Regions from separate parts of the Homo sapiens genome. Here regions 1 and 2 are each linked to region 3. The links are contacts of gene promoters, found by promoter capture Hi-C in human tissues and cell types (Jung and others, 2019). All regions are on one chromosome and are shown on one strand. The core of a region is centred on a gene start or on the middle of the fragment in contact, and the rest is flanking DNA. Distances in the headings are between cores, read along the strand shown.

Region 1 (2,700 bases), core at 125-2,624, 96 kb after region 3:
AAGAGACTTGGAAAAGAAAAAGACACAGAGACAAAGTATAGAGAAAGAAATAAGGGGGCCCAGGGGACCAGCGTTCAGCATACGGAGGATCCCACCGGCCTCTGAGTTCCGTTAGTATTTATTGATCATTCTTGGGTGTTTCTCGGAGAGGGGGATGTGGCAGGGTCATAGGATAATAGTGGAGAGAAGGTCAGCAGATAAACATGTGAACAAAGGTCTCTGCATCATAAACAAGGTAAAGAATTAAATGCTGTGCTTTAGATATGCATACACATAAACATCTCAATGCCTTAAAGAGCAGTATTGCTGCCCGCCTGTCCCACCTCCAGCCCTAAGGCAGTTTTCCCCTATCTCAGTAGATGGAACATACAATCGGGTTTTATACCGAGACATTCCATTGCCCAGGGACGGGAAGGAGACAGATGTCTTCCTCTTGTCTCAACTGCAAAGAGGCGTTCCTTCCTCTTATACTAATCCTCCTCAGCACAGACCCTTTACGGATGTCAGGCTGGGGGATGGTCAGGTCTTTCCCTTCCCACGAGGCCATATTTCAGACTATCACGTGGGGAGAAACCTTGGACAATACCTGGCTTTCCTAGGCAGAGGTCCCTGCGGCCTTCCTTCTGCAGTGTTTATGTCCCTGGGTACTTGAGATTAGGGAGTGGTGATGACTCTTAAAAGAGCATGCTGCCTTCAAGCATCTGTTTAACAAAGCACATCTTGCACAGCCTTTAATCCATTTAACCCTGAGTGGACGCAGCACATGTTTCAGAGAGCACAGGGTTGGGGGTAAGGTTACAGATTAACAGCATCTCAAGGCAGAAGAATTTCTCTTAATACAGAACAAAATGGAGTCTCCCATGTCTACTTCTTTCTACACAGACACAGTAACAATCTGATCTCTCTTTCTTTTCCCCACAAGCCAGCAAGAGGGAAGATGGGAGAGAAGATAAAATAAGAGAGAAAAAAAACTATCTTCCCTTCCTACAGTCAGGATGCCATCAACTATAGGCCATAATTCAAAGGTGCTAACTCAACTTTTGGATAAAATAAAAGCACTTAATCATTGTTTTCCATCGGACATTCCAGTTTTTAAACTGAGGCTGTCTTTACAACTTAAAGTGACCAAAGGATTGTCTATCACCTAGGAGTGGGCAGAACAATCATGGAATCTACCCACATTTCCAGTATAGGAACAGATCACGACCACTGAGTATACTTCAAATAGACGGTGGATAACAAAATAAGTTATACTTTGAGCCTACAAATCATGCATTTAGCATGTCAGCTTGTTATCTGTCTCCCTTCACTGGCAGGCAAGTCTCACAAGAGTGTGGACTTTGTCATCCTAACATTGTATCCTTAGAACCAAGAAGAAAGTCTGGCATGTATTAGTAATAAATATTATCTAAGATTGATCAATGAGCTCATCTTTAGGTTCTCCAAGTTTCATGTCTCCAAATAACTGTCCTTCTGCTTTGGGGCTCATTTAAGGTGTCTAAGATAGCTGTATTAGATAGGATAAGTTAACTGTCATGACAACAACTCAAAATATCATTGGGTTAACAGAAAACAACTTTATTTCTTGCTCATGAAAAGTCTAATGAGAATATTTCTGGGCAACTCTCCTCCAACCAGTGACTCAGGGATCCAGGCTCCTTCCATCTTGTAATGCTATCATTTTCAACATGCAGTCTCTAAGTCTTGGAAGGGGAAAAGAGTGGAGTAAGGCACAGCTGATAATTCATCTCCTCAGCTTATAAATGGCACACATTATTTCTGCTTACATTCTTTTGCTCAGTGCTAGTCCTATGGGTGCAGCTGAAGACAGTGGATTGAGGAGCATGGTATATAACTAGACAACTGCATCCTAACAATACCTCTACACTGTGAAAGGAGAGCTTGCATCTTTGGTGATCAGCTACCACTGCTGCCACAGTAGCCACCTGGAAGGACTGATTAAAGGCCTGCCTTACTTGTACAAATGAGCCCTCCTCCCACATAAAGGAGCCCAGACCATGAAGCCTTGCTAGATATCTGGGCTTGACTAACCCCAGAACCACCTCTCTGGTGCCAGCTGTTACTTAGTCCAGCTTCCTCTCAGCTCTACTATCTGTTGAAATCCTGCTATTTCATCAGGAATCTTAGAACTGAATATCTACCTGCCACATCAGTAAAGACATCCATACCTAGTTCTGTGGGGGTAAAAAGACCACATCCACCCCCATAGCAGGGTCAGCTGCCAAGCACCAGTTCCATCCAGTGAGGTCCCTCTGCTCTTACCCATGTTGCTGTGAGGAAACACCCAAAACTCTAAGAGCCCTAAATACCTCCTTCTCTTTACAGATGGAGAACTGGCACCTGGAGCTGGTGGATGGTGGAAGTCCAAGGTCACACTGTCAGTGGCAGAGCTAGAATCAGAGCCCACACTTCTGGCCACACTTCACATCACACTACACATCGAAGGCTGCCACCTCCTCAATCCCCCAATCACTTGCTGTTTTACTCAAACTGAGCTTCCATTGTCCTCCTATCCTGAGAGCCTTCCCAGGCCTTCGACTCAGCCTTACCTCCTTCACTTGACCCCCAAGACACGCCTTCCCTGGCAGTCTTCTCCTACCCGCTGGGATGGTACCCAATCCACGCTTTCTCCTTGGGTCTCATTTGGATGTTTTGTTCCATGCTGAGCATCTCCCTGGC
Region 2 (2,700 bases), core at 119-2,618, 95 kb before region 3:
GTAGTGTTTAGAAATAAATTCCCAACCAAGCAGGACTCGACTCAGAGACGGTGGCTGCCTGCTGCTCCAGGGATGAATCTTAAAGCCACGGTTTGCTTCATGATACATAGGAGAGAAATCTGGTCAGGAAACTCTAGAAAATCTTTTCTCAGCCATCTGTCTTCCCCTGAATGGCAGCCAGAGATGGCTCCCCAAGTCGTGTGCGGCAGCTCAGTTGGAAAGGGGCCGGGGCTGGGGTGCCAGGGCAGGGTGCTAGTGCTCTGTGTTTGGTGAAGGCACCGGCTGGCAGGTTACGCCCCGGAACAGTCAGTCAGCAGTACCAGATTATCCAAGGATGGGAAAATTAGCTTCTGAAGCCTTCCCAGATATCTTATTATTGAAATTGACTTTTCATCCGATGAGATGTAGTTGTGTTGAATCGACAGCCAAGCCCTGACTCCAGGTAGTGGCAGACTCTATGATGCTATTTTTTCAACTTAGTACTAGTTTGAGAGAAAATGTGAACTGGATACCTAGAATAGACTCTTCGCCAAGGGCTGCAGGAGTCTCAGAGAGATTCTATTATGCCCAGTTGCCCTGAGGGTCTCAGAGCAGGAGTTAACTACTCTTCCTTAGAGTCTGTTGAAAGTGGGCTGACCCAGCGAAAAGCCTGAATCAATGAACTGTGCTTTCAAGCAGGTAAAAGGAACGAAAAGAAGAAAGGTGATGCTCTCCAGGAGAGGCAAAATGTTTGTATTATAAATAAATACTTTCTTATAAAGAAGAAAGCTTTGTGGCTTCGTCCTCTCCACTCTCCCCTCCCCGCCATTCAGACTGCAGCATTGCTGACTCTGTGCTCTTCTTGGTATATACCTGCCATTGATTTAGAGCCACAGGGAGAAGGCAGATGTCCTTGATTTATCTAACTGGACTGGTTTTCATTTATGTGCCTCAGGGGCAATTTTGGCTGAACTGCAACCCGGTTATTGGAAGTGTTCTTGTCCCCTTCCTCTGTCTCTATTTATATGCACGACACTTAAGCTTTGTAATTGGGAGAAGAAGAAAGAAGGGGTTTCATGGATCTCTTCTCCACTGTCTGTCCTTGGCCTGGGTTTCATCTCTACAGGGATAAGGATCAGAATTGGATGGAATTATTTTCATGGCAGACTTGGTGAGATTCTGGGCACAAGCTGGGATGCTTTAGGACCCAGGTGACAAAGTGCGGCCTCGGAGTAGGGAAAGGCCATTCTCCTCCCTCCGTACAGAACTCAGGATTGGTGGCCTTTGAAGGCGTTTTCAAGCTGCTTAACGGGTGAGTGGAAGCCAGAGGAAGAGGCACCTCAGGGCAGCCCCCTGTGGTTGGTGCTGCTGGAAGCCTGGCCTGTGCCCAACGTGAAGCTTTCCTGGGGCAGTTCCCAGAATTTACTAGGGGCCCCTTGAGGGGCTCAGTTCTGGTTGGGGAAGGGAGGGCTTGCTCAGAGTCATTGCAATTGGGATATCAACATAATCATGACCTTGTTTTATGTCCCCAAACTGAGAGGCCACGGGACCCAGGATACTTTGTAGGGAGAGTGCTGGCATCTCATCTTCTGGCCACCTCTCTGGCTTCAGTTGAACTAAGTGGCAACTTTGAAGGACCTGCCCTGGAAGAGTAAGAGACATTTCCTTAAGTCACTCAAATGAGAGATTTCTCATCCAAGCACAGCCCTGCTGCTTGTGTGGGAGGTCTCATTGTGTGGGCAGGGGGTCATTGCAGAGAGGCTGGTATTGGGGGTGGAGTTAGTCTGGGGAAGAAGGAAAGAAGGAGGGAAGAAGAAATGGTCTTAGGTGGTTAATTCAGTCTATAGCTGTTGCCACTGATAGAGTTTCATTTTTTTCGTTTTATTAAATTATACTTTTTTTTTTTTTGAGACAGTCTTGCCCCGTCGCCCAGGCTGGAGTGCAGTGGCATGATCTTGGCTCACTGCAAGCTCCTCCTCCCGGGTTCACGCCATTCTCCTGCCTCAGCCTCCTGAGTAGCTGGGACTATAGGCACCCGCCACCACGCCTGGATAATTTTTTTGTATTTTTAATAGAGACGGGGTTTCACCGTGTTAGCCAGGATGGTTTTCCTCTCCTGACCTCGTGATCCACCTGCCTCGGCCTCCCAAAGTGCTGGGATTACAGGCTTGAGCCTGGGATACATGTGCAGAACGTGCAGATATGTTTGCAGAACGTATTACATAGGTATACACGTGCCATGATGGTTTTCTGCACCCATCAACCCATCATCTACATTAAGTATTTCTCCTAATGCTATCCCTCCCCTAGCCCCCCCATCCCCTAACAGGCCCCCGTGTGTGATGTTCCCCTCCCTGTGTCCATGTTCTCATTGTTCAACTCTCACTTATGAGTGAGAACATGCAGTGTTTGGTTTTCTGTTCCTGTGTTAGTTTGCTGAGAATGATGGTTTCCAGCTTCATCCATGTTCCTGCAAGACATGAACTCATCCTCTTTTTATGGCTGCATGGTATTCCATGGTGTATATACGCCACATTTTCTTTATCCAGTCTATCATTAATGGGCATTTGGGTTGGTTCCAAGTCTTTGCTATTGTGAATAGTGCTGCAATAAACATATGTGTGCATGTGTCTTTATAGTAAAATGATTTATAATCCTTTGGGTATAAACCCAGTAATGGGATTGCTGGGTCAAATGGTATTTCTGGTTCTAGATCCTTGA
Region 3 (2,700 bases), core at 201-2,700:
TGGAAGCTGCGAACCTTCAACAATTGCCTCTCCCTCGTCCCCTAAACTTATGCCCACGCGATGGTAGCACCAACTGGGTCTTCAGCACCGTGGACAGAGCCAGGGGGCGCCTCACGGTGGAAAAGCCGCCTGGCTGGGCCAGGGTCCTCACAGGCCTTGCCTTAGCCCTTGGTGCCCCAGGCACCAGCTGCTAGGGGATCGCAAGTCCAAGGGCCGGTTGGCACAGATGGCGCGCAGTGGAGACCGCCAGGAGCTAAGGCTCCGAATCTCCTCCCTCCGGAACGTGAGTCACTGCCCGAGTCACTTCCAATAAGCGTGTTAATTAAGAGGCAAGACCTTTCTCCCTCGCCAGCCACTCGGGCATACACCAACCCAGCAGCCTCCAGGGGCTGCAGCTAAAGCTTCCTTCCCAGCTCCGGGAGAGCAAATGGACCTGAGTCTGGGGCTTCAGGCGAGCCCCACACAGAAGGGGCCCCACCGCCGACAGGTGTAGATCAAGAGACTCCCGAGATAGGCCCCTGCAGGGCGCTGGTCCCCCGGCCTCCCTGACCATGGCTCACAGACTTCCAGCGCTGAGTGAGGCAGCTCGAAGCCTCTCAGCCGATCTGTTCCTGGGCCTCACTCCACAGTTTCTGAGGGGATCTCTACTTTAAGTCTAGCCTCAATCCTCCCGTTGAGCTTTCTGTCTTTCTTGTTATGCTTAGCAGAAAGATACATGATCTCTGGTGCTGTTTCACCGAAGCAAGGAGGTGGGTCGGCGGAACTGAGCGCCCTGCGCCCTCTTGAAATGACCCCCCATTCCTGTTTGCCAGAAACTTTTCCCTCCCGTTGCCATGGAGAGAGACGGCCGCTGCCTCCCGTCGCCATAGCAACATGCGGGTACCGCGGACCGCAGGATTGCGGAGCTCGGAAAGTCTTGCAGTTCGCATCGCCCGCCTGTCTTGGGGTCTTCTACCTCCGAAGCTGGGACTCGGGGGCCAGTCTAACTGCTCCCGTCAGGAACCTCGGCCAAGGTCCTCCCAGACCCTGCCTGACCGTCGCTCTTTCTGTTACGGGGTTATCTATTTCTCTGTCATTCGTGTGGCATGTGGCAGTTTACCCAGTGTTTTCACAAACACGATCTTTCTATCCCCAGGGAGTCCGTGAAGTACTTAAAATCATTACACCTCCTTTACGGAGAGGAAAATTGAGGCTCAGAGACGCCCAAGGTCACACCAGGCAGTGAATGCGGAGTGGGAACCCGGACTCTTTCCTGGCCTTGCACCCTCCGAGATTCGGGACAGCCCGGCTTCCCGCCTCGAAACCCCCACCCCCCGGACTCAGGCCAGTCCCTGAGTGTAGAGGGGGCGGCCGCGAGGCGCCAGACTCGCCAGCTGCCGCGGGATGCCACGTGAGGGGCGGGGACCCTGCGGGGAAGTGATTAAAAGCAGAGCGGAGCCGCAGGGGGCCGCTGCAGGGAGGGTCTTCTTGGGGCCGTCGTGCCCCGCCCCAGTGCGGCCGGGGCGCGGGTTCGAGCTGCTGCTCGGCAAGCCTGGGTGTCTAGGGCATGAGCGGAGTGTGGGGGGCCGGCGGGCCTCGGTGCCAGGAGGCGCTCGCGGTCCTCGCCTCGCTGTGCCGGGCCCGGCCGCCCCCTCTCGGGCTGGACGTGGAGACTTGTCGGAGCTTCGAGCTGCAGCCCCCAGAGCGGAGTCCCAGCGCGGCAGGCGCAGGTAACGGGAGACCCAGGGCCCCCTCCCTTCCTGGATATCCGTCCTGCGATCTCCCTTCCCCAAAGCCCCGGTCCCAGGAGCCCCAGAACCTAGAGAGAACTCCCCAGCTCGGGATTCTGGATTGGGAGCCAGCCTCGTCCAGCCCTCTGGCCCATCGCTTGCACAGCCAGGAGAGACCCGAAGGGGAGCGGAGGTTGGGGTAGAAGCCCCCGGCCCTCCTGTATTACTACTGCGGAATGCGGGGGACCCCGCAGACAGCCAGGCTCCCAGGACGGGGCACCCTTGGGGCTTCAGTTTCCCTCGCATCTCCAAGCTCGCTCTGCGGGCGATTTGCCAGGAGAGGGGTCCATGGAGAGAGCGGGAGACGAGGGGCGCCCGGCTGAGGAATAGGGCTTGCCTCCTAGCGAGTGTCGAGGTCCCCGGGTCCGTGCGTCGGTCTGTCCGTCCGTTTGTGTGTTCTCGCGGTGAACGCGGGCGGACCCCCAGTCTCTCCGGGAGAAACTTGGGTCTGCGGCTGGCACGAGGTCTTTGTGTCCGGGTGTCTCTCCGGCTGCGAGTGGTTTTCCGCGTCTCCGCTGGGGGGCGGGGGACAGGGGGCGGGGTGGGGGAGGGTATGAGGGTGTTGCGGCGTCCTTCCCCCACCCCCTCTCGCCCCTATAACTCGCTCCCTCCGTCCCTCTCGGACTCGGACTCGGGGCCGGTGCGCGACTGAGCTGGCGCCTCTAGCCGACTTTGCCAAGAGGGCGCCTCCTGCCCGATCCGCGCTGACCCTGCGCGGGACGCAGCCCCAGGCGGCTGCCTAGCCGAGGCGGGAGCCCGAGCTGAGTCGAGCTCGCCGGAGCGGGTGAGTCCCGAGCCCGATCCCCGCCGGGCTGGACCCTGGCGCGCAGCTGCGGCGTCTCCGGGGAGTCGCGGCAGGGGGAATGGCGTGTCGCGCCCTGGCGGCGGGAGCTGCGGGAGGGTCGGCGACGTGGCGGCCGGCCCAGGGTAT

What was found. The method cuts DNA at HindIII sites, captures the fragments that hold promoters and counts their contacts. A contact is called where the count stands out against the background at its distance.
Region 1: a contact is called between a fragment that was not itself captured here and the fragment with the promoter of SYT6 in region 3, in 2 of the 25 tissues and cell types used here (spleen and thymus).
Region 2: a fragment that was not itself captured here is called in contact with the fragment with the promoter of SYT6 in region 3 in 3 of the 25 tissues and cell types used here (H1 embryonic stem cells, IMR-90 fibroblasts and psoas muscle).

What each region holds. Positions count from the first base shown.
Region 1 is chr1:114,056,368-114,059,067 of GRCh38, reverse strand. No RefSeq gene overlaps it. Among named protein-coding and RNA genes, the nearest start is that of OLFML3, 78 kb to the right of the region's middle. RefSeq lists an enhancer at 60-914. The HindIII fragment of the contact is 6,102 bases long and covers 1-2,700 here.
Region 2 is chr1:114,247,392-114,250,091 of GRCh38, reverse strand. No RefSeq gene overlaps it. Among named protein-coding and RNA genes, the nearest start is that of SYT6, 95 kb to the right of the region's middle. The HindIII fragment of the contact is 3,137 bases long and covers 1-2,700 here.
Region 3 is chr1:114,152,619-114,155,318 of GRCh38, reverse strand. SYT6 (synaptotagmin 6) reads left to right here and starts at 1,450. Exons shown (of 8, transcript NM_001253772.2): 1 at 1,450-1,709. The coding sequence starts at 1,547. RefSeq lists an enhancer at 1-275. The HindIII fragment of the contact is 10,069 bases long and covers 1-2,700 here.